Linked DNA regions of Homo sapiens: regions 1, 3 and 4 are each linked to region 2. Evidence: promoter capture Hi-C in 16 types of primary human blood cells and fetal thymus (Javierre and others, 2016). All regions are on one chromosome and are shown on one strand. Each heading gives the region's core, a stretch centred on a gene start or on the middle of the fragment in contact. The rest is flanking DNA. Distances are from core to core; before and after follow the strand shown. Region 1 overlaps BSDC1 (BSD domain containing 1). Region 2 holds the start of KPNA6 (karyopherin subunit alpha 6). Region 3 overlaps PEF1 (penta-EF-hand domain containing 1). Region 4 overlaps SPOCD1 (SPOC domain containing 1).

Region 1 (2,723 bases), core at 200-2,699, 280 kb before region 2:
CCTCCAGGATTTTCTCACTTAGCTGGCAGTACTGCATCTACGCAGTCACCTATTTTAGCAGCCTGTGGTGCTTCCATGATTCTTTTCTAGCCCTCAGTCAACATACCTGTTCAGTCACCAAATCCACCTTCTTCCATCTCCTGTATCTTGAACCAGTCTCATCCTCTCCATCTTTACTAGCATTGTCCTTACTCACATTTTTCTATTTTCTTTCCTGGATTATTGCAGCAGCCTCCTGACTGGTCTTCCTTCTTCCTCTTCTAATCTTCTCGCCTCTGGACCTTTCCTCCATTCCAGTCACTGGAGTAATTTAGTGAAAAGGCAAATCTCATGTCCCACCCACTTCAAACCTTTGGTGGCTCCCCATCATCCATAGGGCTGACCAGGCTCTCCCTGGTTGCCCTTGGCAACCTCTCCAGCTTTATCCCTCACCACTCTTGCTTCACATTTTATGTCCATCAGGACTGTAATGCTTGTAGACGTCACTAAACCCATGTCAACACTTCTTAGCTGACTCCTGTTCTTTTTTTTTTTTTTTTTTGAGACAGGGTCTCACTCTGTTACCCAGACTGGAGTGCAGTGGCATGATCACAGCCCACTGCAGCCTCAACCACCCAGGCTCAGGTGATTCTCCCACCTCAGCCTCCTGGGTAGCTGGGACTATAGGCGTGTACCACCACTTCTGGCTAATTTTTTGTATTTGTGTGTGTGTGTGTGTGTGTGTGTGTGGAGACGGTTTTGCCATAGTGTCCAAACTGGTCTCAAATTCCTGGGCTCAAGCAATCCTCCTGCCTCGGCTTCCCAAAGTGCTGGGATTACAGGCATCAGCCACTGCACCTGGCCCACATCAATACTTCTTAACCAACTCCTGTTCATTCTTTAAGGGCCCATTCCAGGCTTCTGGTCACCACATCTTCCCAACCTCCCCATAGTACAGCAGCTACTGCTCTGCCCTTGCACATCAGCACTATCATGGGACCATTTTCCCCAGTAGACTGTGACCTGCTTGAGGGCAACGTATGTTCATGTTTGTCTGCTCAGAGCTCACAGTCTAGCGGGAAGACAACTGTTTAGTCACACAAGTGGTTACATAATTGAAATTTCAATGGTCCATGTAAATTTAACAAGCAAACATTTTTTGAGTACCTACTGTATGCTCTGTGTCAGATACTGGGGAACCATCAGGGAACAAAACACATAGGACCTGTGTTCACACAACTCACAGTTTATCCAGGAAGACAGACATTGAACAGGTCATCTGAAGTCTAAACTATGTTCAGTGTTAGAAAAGAGATAAATTGGGAGGCCAAGGTGGGCGAATCATGAGGTCAGGAGATCGAGACCATCCTGGCTAACACAGTGAAATCCCGTCTCTACTAAAAATACAAAAAATTAGCTGGGCTTGGTGGCGGGCGCCTGTAGTCCCAGCTACTCGGGAGGCTGAGGCAGGAGAATGGCATGAACCCGGGAGGCAGAGGTTGCAGTGAGCAGAGATCGCGCCACTGCACTCCAGCCTGGGTAACAGAGCGAAACTCCATCTCAAAAAAAAAAAAAAAGAAAAAAAAGAAGAAGAGATAAAGCAGGGAGAGCCAGCTGAGCCTGAAGAGGCAGCAGGAAGCCCCTCTAGGGAAATGAAGCATAGACGTTGAGGATGAACAGGAGTTTTCCAGATAAGAGGGTTCCTTCATCGTGTTTACAGACTTGGTTTTTTTGAAGAGTTAGAACTCTGTATCAGGGAGAGGAAACAATGTGTTCAGATACTCTGAGGCAGGACAGATGCTAGGGCATTTTAGAAACTTGAGGAAGGCCAGCTGGAGCTCAGTGAACGGCACAGTGGTAGGGGATACCAGTCTGCCAGAGGCCAAGTTATATAGGCTTTGTAAGTAAAGGTGGATTTTCAATTTGCTCTTAGGATAGTGTGTAAACTTAAAGAGTGTAAAGCAGCACGGTCTGCCCTGACAGACAAAGCACCCACTGGGTGTCATAAGGAGAATGAAGTAAAGGTGGCTGAGACAACCTGGGAGGAATCCAGGTGAAAGAATAAGTTGGCCTGGACTAAGATGGTGGCAGTGTGGATAGAAAGAGTGAATCGGTAAATGACCCAGGGCACAATTTCATGGTGCTGTGAAATATTTTTTAAAATTTTAATAAAAGTAAATAAGTAAATGACCTCCTCCACCCCCAATTAAGGAGTCCTGAGTTGATATGGAGGCATGATTACCACCCCTAGAGAAGCCTGTAGCTGATAGACTGTGCCATTCAGAAACTTCCCAAGCTAATGAAAAGTGGGCAGGCCCTTCCCAGAAGAACAAACCACAGGAGCGCTCAAAAACATGCTTTAAAAAATGCAGGTGATTATCCCCGTGTAAGATGAAAGGGCTTGCAGGGGGAGTGGCCACTGAGATACTCCAGGAAGCATCCTAGAGTTGGTGAGTCTGAAGCAAGACAGGGCAAGACCTAGAAGTGAGCTGAGGGTCTGCTTTCTCAAGTGAGGTCTGGGTGCAGGCTGAGAAACAGATTGGTTTAGCAGGAGCAAATATGCATTCTGCCCAAAGGAGCTTTGTATATGAATAGAACCTCGGGATGGTAGAACCAAGAAGGCCTCCAAGAGAATCTGATCTAGTCTTTCTCTTGACCGCTTCCTCCTTTGTTGAATGTAAAAAATCACATGCCTTTTTACTGATATTAAATTGTTAAGAATTACTCATAAAATAGCTTTCCAA
Region 2 (2,803 bases), core at 22-2,521:
GTGGTGGTGGGTGCCTGTAATCCCAGCTACTCGGGAGGCTGAGGCAGGAGAATCGCTTGAACCCGGGAGGCAGGAGGTTGCAGTGAGCCGAGATCGCGTCACTGCACTCCAGCCTGGGCGACAGAGCAAGACTCTATCAACAACAACAACAAACAGCAGTTACAAACTAGGCTTGGGAGTGTTCACCCTGGCTTAGCCACTGCATGACCTTGGGTAAGTTACTTTACCTCTCTAAAGCTCAGCTTCCACATCTGTAAAATGGCAATGGTAGCATCTATTTCCTTAGGTTGTACAAATTAAGTAAAACAAGACATGTAAAGCAATCAGAACAATGCCCGTACGTAGAAAGAGCTTAGCAAATTTCACAATTTTTACTGCTTTAGAGGAATTACCACTGTTGGTTCTGTCTCTAAATCCAAAGACTTCGCCATGGTATTCTCTCTGAACAGAGGCCTTGCCAGCCGGAGTCCCCTCAGAAAGATCAACAGGTCGCTCCTTTTCTCCTTACCAGGGCCAGCCCAGAAACCTAAAGTCCTCAACCTAAAGATGGCCAAGAGGACTTGGCCTTTGGTGTTCTACCATCACAAGCGATGCCACTCTGAGCCCAACCGAACCACACTATTTCCGCCTTGATTCCGTTCTCCCGGCCTTCAGCGGCGCAAGCTGCCCTCGGCCTGGCTGCCCATGCTTACCGGCCTAGTGCTGGCTCGCCTGACGTCCCCTCACTAGAGGACTCCACCTCGCTACGTAGGTAGGACTTCCCTGAGTTCAGGGGAGCCACTGAATCTAGTCAAGACACGCGTTGGCCAAACACAACCCAGGAGAAAGCTACCTTAGCGCCGCCCAGGCCTGCCGCCGGGAGCCCGTCCCCCAGCCCCAGTCTGGGCGCAGGACAGAGAGTAGGCCCCTTTCTACCTCCCAGGAACACGTGGGCTCCTGCCCGAGGCCACCATGTGGGGGGCTCCAGGCGTGCCAAGGTGTCCCCGAAACCAGCACCAAAGGACTGCTTCCAGCACGGGCCCTAGCTCGGCCCAAAACTGGCAAGAGGGGCACTCCCGGCCTGACTTTTCCCCTCAGACCTAGCTAGAGGGGATGCAGACATCTTCCGCAGACCGGAGACAGGCTCTCGCCAAATCCCAGGCCCCGACACTCCCTGAGCCCAAGAACCCTACTGCGTGGTTTCCTCACTCACCCATCGCGGGTCCGCTCGCTCACTCTTGGCGGCGGAGGCAACGGCGGCAGCTTCAGCGGCAGCTTTCAGTAGACAATATGGCGGATCTGTAGGACGGCAGCCCGAAAGGGACAAACCAGTTAACTCCAGGACGAAACGCTTTATTGGCCCAATCGCCTATCATTACACCGAAAGTGCGCACTTAAAGAGACCGCAGCTACTAAAGGTGGGGAGTGGAAATGAAATAGGAAAGGAGTGGTTGGGAGGAGACTGGAAGGGATACCTAAGAAAGTTAAGTGTGTCTAGGAGTTCCCAGCTGTTTCTGCTACTATTTCTTTTTTATAGTGAGATTTCTTTACCCGGAACTTTTTCTCCCAGAAGCTTATCCCTCCTTTTTTTTTTTTTTTTTTTTTTTTTTTTTTTGAGACGCAGTCTCGCTCTTGTCCCCCCAGGCTGGAGTGCGATGGCGCGATCTCGGCTCACTGCACACTCTGCCTCCCGAGTTCAAGCGATTCTCCTGCCTCGGCCCCCCGAGTAGCTGGGATTACAGGCGCCTGCCACCACGCCTGGCTAATTTTTGTATTTTTACTAGAGACGGTGTTTCAACCATGTTGGCTAGGCTGGTCTTGAACTCCTTACCTCAGGTGATCCGCCCGCCCCCAAAGTGCTGGGATTACAGGCTTGAGCCACCGCTCCGGGCCAGTTTATCCCTTCTTCTAATAGTTGAAACCAATCGGCTGGGCGCTGTGGCTCACGCCTGTAATCCCAGCACTTTGGGTAGGCCGAGGCGGGCGGATCACCTGAGATCAGGAGTTCGAGACCAGCCTGCCCATGGTCTCTACTAAAAATACAAAAATTAGCTGGGTGTGGTGGCGCATGCCTGTAATCTACTTGGGAGGCTGAGGCAGGAGAATTGCTTTAACCCGGGAGGCAGAGGTTGCAGTGAGCCGAGATTGTGCCACTGCATTCCAGCCTGGGAGACAAGAGCAAAACTCCGTCTCTAAAAACAAAAACAGCAATCATAGACCTTGGGCTGAATATGAACAACGAATCATCTAGAGAGGGGAAGTGCCTTGCTCAATGAGGCTATGGAGAGAAGGAAACAAAGAAGTAAGACTAAACTCAGGTTTTCTGATTAGGCCTACGTAGGTAGCCCTAGTTGAGGTTGCAATCTTATTGGGAGATGAGAAATAGAAAAATAGGGCTGGGTGTGGTGGTTCACGCTTGTCTATAATCCTAACACTTTGGGAAGCTGAGGCCAGAGAATCACTTGAGGCCAGGAGCTCAAGACCAGACTGGGCAACACAGTGAGACCCCATCTCCACAAAAAATAAATTAAAAGAAAAAAATTAGCCAGGCATGGTAATGAGCACTTGTACTTGGGCGGCTGAGGCGAGAGGATCACTTGAGTCCGGGAGGTCAAGGCTGCAGTGCCATGACTGTGTCACTATACTCCAGGTTGGGTGATAGAGTGAGACCCTGTCTCTAAAAAAAAAAAAAAGAGAGAGAGAGAGAGAGAAAGAAATGGGCTGGACATGGTGGCTCATTCCTGTAATCCCAGCATTTTAGGAGGCTGAGGCGGCAGATTGCTTGAGCCCAAGAGTTCGAGACCAGCCTGGGCAACATAGCAAG
Region 3 (2,700 bases), core at 23-2,522, 470 kb after region 2:
GAACGGAGCTCCATTCACTGAGATGAGAACACAGGGAGGCATGGGTTTGGAGGGAAGGTCCAGTAGGCTGCTGGATATGTGGGTCTGTAGCTCAGGAGTGATGAAGCTGGAAAGATTTGAAAGTGTGAGCACAGAGGTAATTGAAGTCTGGGGATGGTTCTTGGCTCATTGTTTATTGGTTGCGTGCTTCTCTCCTATTTCAAGTGGCTCTGCTGGTGAATGCTTGAACTGTTCCTCTTGTCTTCCTGTGATTGTTTAACCCCTTAGTTTGGGCTTCCCACCTCCTCCTGTGCACTTGAAGGGTAGCTCTGGGGTACAAACTTGTCTTTGCAATGCTCCCTCCTCCATTCGTCATCAGGGCTCAGCTTGGAACAGCCGTTGATACCTTTAAGCTTCACAGGGGTCTTGAGGTTAGAAGACTTGAGTCCTCAGAACTGGAAAGAAAAAAAAAATACCGGACTTTCTGAGGTGGTTATTTGGGAGGAGGTAAGCTCCCTACTGCTTGCGCAAGTGCAGGTAGAGATTCCAGGTGGTTCTGCAGAGATTCCATTATTAACTGAGAGGTTGAACTGAAGAGTCTTTGGGGTGTCTTCCAAAATGTGGCTTGGCTCTCAAAGTGACTCTAGGTGCTGGGACGAAAAAGAATGAGATTTTTCTAAGAGTCCCTGATTTCTGGGCTTGAAGGCTCTGAGAGATCACCCAATCCAGCCTTCCCCTCTACCTCTGTCCACAGTAGAAATTCATTATATTTGACAAAGACATTTAGCACAGTCCCTCACACAGACACATGCTAGGCACTCACTCATTTATTGAGTGAACAAACAGAAGGGGGTAGTGTAGAGTCATGCAGACCCTGACTTGAATCCCAACTTGCCCATTCTAGCTGCATGATCTCAGGCATGTTATTAAACTCTCTGCCCCTTAATTTTCTCATCTGCAAAATGGAGATGACACTGTTTACCTCACAGGACTGAGGATTAGTGAGAGCTGGTTGAACTGGAAGCACCTAGCAGAGCCTCAGTAAATGTTTGTTGCCCCCAGTCCCCCCAGGGCATCAGATGTAGCTTATTTGCAATCAGCCAGAGCCCTAGAGATAGTTTTTCTGTGTTGCTTCAGAAGCTGCAGTTACTGAACTCTTCCTGTCCTTCCCCTCCACCTGCCTTCACAATCCTGTTTATCAGTATGAAATAACTCTTGGAAAAACTCTAAAAAGGGCTGGGAGCATGGAGTAGTGTAAAAGAACGTGGAGTCAGGGATGCTGTTTTTCATTTCTGGTTCAGACCTTTGCTAACAACTCAGTGACACTGGGTGACCCTCTGTGAGGTGGGGACCACCTCATCTTCTTCCCCAAACTTCCTGTGCAGCCTGCATTCTGTCTCAGTTGGCTCCACCTCCTTCATCTTGTGCAAAAGCTAGAAACCCGAGTCATTCTGAACACTTTCCTCACTCCTCCTCCATCTCTTTCCTAATCTAATTAGTCACCAAGTCATGTCTGGTCTATCTCTGAAATAGCTTCAGAATCCATTCCGTTCTCTTCATCCCCAAGTGTGCTGTCTGGTTCATGCCCTGCCTGCCCAGCACCTGGGCTACTGCCTCCCTCACTGGCTCATCCTCCACACCGCCGCTGGTTACTTCTCTAAACAAGGTTCTCATCACGTTCCTCTCCTATTGGAAACCCTTCTATAGTGCTCTGTTTTCTCCGGCATAAAGCCCCAACAAAACTCTTTAGAGTGGTGTTCATTTGTCCAAATATTTGTGGAGGCTTGCAGGTGCCAGGCACTGTGCTGGGCCCTGGGGTGCCATGATGAGTGAGGCGCAGTGTCTGCCCCTGGGGAGCTTACTGTTGGGTGGGGGAGATGCTAGACAGAAACTACTCTTAGACACTGATACCTCACGGCTAACTGAAATGCAGGGGGAGAGGTGCTTGGTCAACGAGTGTATAGAGGGCCTGCCTTTCTGGGTTCACACTGCATTCTTGGCTCTGCGGTTTAACTCATTCCCTGAATGCACTATGCTCACTCTTAAGTCTGTGCGTTTGTCTTTCTTCTCTCTTCTGTCTGGAGTGTCCTTCCCTGCCTGCCTTTTGGAAAATGTCTATGCATCCTTCAAGGACCATTTCCAATATCACTGCCACTTCCTCCAGGAAGCTTTCCTTGACCCACTTCATACATTGTTCATTTATTCATTCTGCAAACAGCACAAATTCCTCCATCTAAGCTTCCTTGATAGCACATAAGTAGATTTTTCTGATGGCACTGATCAGATTGTATCACAATTATCTGTGGGCCCCTTAAGGGCAGGACTTCATTTACTTGTGTCCTCAGATCTACTACAGAGCCTAGTACAATATTGTCACTCTGAAAATGCGTGCTGAATGAAGTCCTTTAACAGCTCCGTGGCTTAGTTTCTTCATCTGTAAAAGAGGGCAACTAACATCTTCCTTTTTTCTGTTAGGAGGCCATTGGCAAGATTCTGCCTGTAGTGTTTGTGTTTGTGAAAGTACTTTGTAAACTACAGAGGAGGTCTTCAAATGCAGGACAGAAAGGAAAGGGTTTAATTGCTGCCAGACTACAATAGCCAGAAGGGCAGGAGACCTGCCTGGCAGCACCTGCTTTGTTGGCCTGGGGATGTTTCCTAGGTGGTTTATAGGTGGTTTCCTAGGTGGGTTTTCCTAGGTGCCAGGTGCGGTTTATAGCTTTG
Region 4 (2,700 bases), core at 16-2,515, 300 kb after region 2:
AACCCGGGAAGTGGAGGTTGCAGTGAGCCAAGATCATGCCACTGCATTCCAGCCTCGGTGACAGAGCGAGACTCCATCTCAAAAAAAAAAAAAAGAAAGAAAGAAAGAAAAAAGAAATTTGAGCACAAATAACTAACTTATCAAAGTATAAAGGTAGTTACAATCTTTGTCTTACTCCAAAATGATATAGGGATCTTGGAATGCTCTAATTCCAAGCGCGTACCTTTCCAATTTGTGTGTTGTTGTTATCCAGTAAATTAGTCCTATCTTTTTTTTTAAAAAATCCCCAAATTACACACTGTTATTATAGTTTCATACAATCAATGTTTATTTAGATTTAACAACATCTTCATCATTTTCTTTGCTCAAAATTCTTCCTTTCATCTTATCTATCTGGGATTGTTTTTCCTTCCTTCTGCCTCAGGTTTATCTTTTAGCATTTTGTTTATTGAGCAAAGCAAAATTATCAAGAAAAATAACAGCTCTCTTGATTTTTCTCTACAGTATCTTTATTTCTTCCTTATTCTTGAAAAGTATTTTGTCTGGGTCCACAATTGATAGTTATTTTCTTTAAGCACATTGAAAATATTATTTTTTTATGTTTTGCTTTTCATTATTACTATTGAGAAAGTAGCTGTTAGTCTAATTGCCATTCCTTTATAGATGAAAGGTATTTTGGTGAATGGGATCATAGAATAGTAGTTGAAGTTATGGCCTCTGGAATCAGACTGTCTGGATTTAAATCCCAGCTCTTTGGTTTTCTAGCTGTGTGACATTGGGCAAGCTGATTAACCTCCCTGTGCCTCTATGTGCCTTAGTTTCCTCTTTTGTAAAATGGGGGAGATAACAGTACCAGTACCTCATAAGATTATGGTGAGGATTAAATTAACTAATATGTAAAGCACTTGCCACAGATGTAGCACATTTTAAGTGCTAGTCAAGTGTTAGCTATTATTTTTTCTCTTTATGCGTGTAAGGATCTCCTTATCATGAGTGTTGATGTGTCTAGGTATGAATTTCCTTTTATTTATTCTGTTTGAGATTCACTGAGCTTTTTGAATCTGTAAATTTTTGTCTTTTATCAATTTTGAAAAATTCTTAGCCCTATTTCTTTAAACACTGCTTCTACCCATTCTCTTTCCTCTCTCCTTCTGGAACTTTAGATTAATCATTTTCACCCTTCCTTCCTTCCTTTCTTCCTTCCTTCCTTCTTTCTTCCTACCTTTCTTTCTTCTTTCTTTCCCTCCTCCTCCTCCTTCTTCTCCTTTCCTTTCCTTTCCCTTTCCTTTCCTTTCTTCTCCTTTCTTTTCTTCTCCTCTCCTTTCCTTTCCTTTATTTTGAGACAGTGTCTTGCTGTGTCACCCAGGCTAGAGTACAGTGGTGTGATCATAGCTCACTGCAGCCTTGACTTCTCCGGCTCAAACAATTCTGCCGCCTCAGCCTCCTGAGTAGTTGGGACTACAGGTACACACCACCATGCCTGGCTATTTTTTTTTTTTTTCTTGTTTTTGTAGAGACAGGGTCTCGCTATGTTTCCCAGGCTGCTCTCAAACTTCTGGCCTCAAGCGATCCTCCTGTCTCGGCCTCCCAAAGTGCTGAGATTACAGGCGTGATGTGTCTCTTAGTGCTTCACAGTGTTCACAAAGTGCAACACATTTAATTTATTTAAATGTGTTGTCCAGTTAGCTAATTTGTTTCAGCTGCATCTAATATGCTATTAAATCTATATATTGAGTTTTTAAATTTTAATTAAGATCGTTATATTTTTCATTCCCAGAAGTCGTGTTTGGTTCCCGATCAAATCTGCCCGGTTGTTTTTTGTAGTTTTTTTGTCCTTCACTCATGTGTTCGTCTCCTTCTTTTATTTCTTTAAACATATTATACATACATAGTTTGTATTCTGGTCTGATAGTCCAGTGTTGAAAGGCTTCGCTCATCTCATTCTCCTGCCTGTTGTTTTGGAGCCTCATAACATGGACGTTAGGACCCCTGAGACGGGCCAGCCAAAAGGCTTTGAACTGTGAAGGGCTGGTCTTGATATTCTTCCCACACCCCTGTTTTCTTTGTTTTTTTTTTTTCTGCCTCTTTCTCAGTTTACTTTTTTGAAAGGCTGATTCATTTCCATGGTTCAAAAAAACAAAAAAAGTGAAACTCATCTTTCCCGGCACCCAGTTGCTTCCCTACTGGCAGCCTGGGTTAGATAGGTTCTTGCAGATACTTCCTGTGATATTTTATGTGTATTCCAGCAAATACAAATTTTAAAATTCGTTCTGTCTGTAACGCGAATGGTAGCACACCACACGTATTGTTCTGAACTTGTTTTTAATAAAAAAACATGTTTCCGGTTGTAAAAGAAATACACGCTCGTTTTGAATAACATGAATACCCAAGTTCCTACAAGTAGAAAGTGAAAGTCTCCCTGGAATTTCATTCCCCAGAGATAACCTCTATTATGTATCTGTAAATATATATTTACATAAATGGGCTTATGCAACAGATATTGTTCTGTAACCTATTTTTTCTTTTTCTCCCAATAATACTTCTTGACATCTTTCCATGAATCTTTCCATGTCTCCACATAGCCCCGCAGCTAAGTGCTTGGGCTTTGGAGTCAGACAGAGCTAGGTTCTAATACTAGCTCTGCAGCTTAGCAGCTATAGGACTTTTCAGATCCTCTTGGAGCCTCAGTTTCCTCATCTG

The links. The method cuts DNA at HindIII sites, captures the fragments that hold promoters and counts their contacts. A CHiCAGO score of 5 or more calls a contact.
Region 1: a fragment that was not itself captured here is called in contact with the fragment with the promoter of KPNA6 in region 2 in 2 of 17 cell types (naive CD4 T cells and non-activated CD4 T cells); the score reaches 6.7 in naive CD4 T cells.
Region 3: a contact is called between a fragment that was not itself captured here and the fragment with the promoter of KPNA6 in region 2, in 3 of 17 cell types (naive CD4 T cells, total CD8 T cells and non-activated CD4 T cells). The highest score is 6.7, in naive CD4 T cells.
Region 4: a contact is called between a fragment that was not itself captured here and the fragment with the promoter of KPNA6 in region 2, in 1 of 17 cell types (megakaryocytes). The highest score is 5.1, in megakaryocytes.

Annotation. Positions count from the first base shown.
Region 1 is chr1:32,387,791-32,390,513 of GRCh38, reverse strand. All of the region lies in intron 2 of BSDC1 (BSD domain containing 1), which reads left to right. Among named protein-coding and RNA genes, the nearest start is that of BSDC1, 5.3 kb to the left of the region's middle. The HindIII fragment of the contact is 8,104 bases long and covers 1-2,723 here.
Region 2 is chr1:32,106,524-32,109,326 of GRCh38, reverse strand. KPNA6 (karyopherin subunit alpha 6) reads right to left here and starts at 1,271. Exons shown (of 14, transcript NM_012316.5): 1 at 1,193-1,271. The coding sequence starts at 1,196. RefSeq lists enhancers at 541-1,058, 1,016-1,445, 1,059-1,577. The HindIII fragment of the contact is 1,772 bases long and covers 1-1,554 here.
Region 3 is chr1:31,638,515-31,641,214 of GRCh38, reverse strand. All of the region lies in intron 1 of PEF1 (penta-EF-hand domain containing 1), which reads left to right. Among named protein-coding and RNA genes, the nearest start is that of PEF1-AS1, 4.3 kb to the left of the region's middle. The HindIII fragment of the contact is 1,755 bases long and covers 395-2,149 here.
Region 4 is chr1:31,802,380-31,805,079 of GRCh38, reverse strand. All of the region lies in intron 2 of SPOCD1 (SPOC domain containing 1), which reads left to right. Among named protein-coding and RNA genes, the nearest start is that of SPOCD1, 12 kb to the left of the region's middle. The HindIII fragment of the contact is 4,282 bases long and covers 1-2,700 here.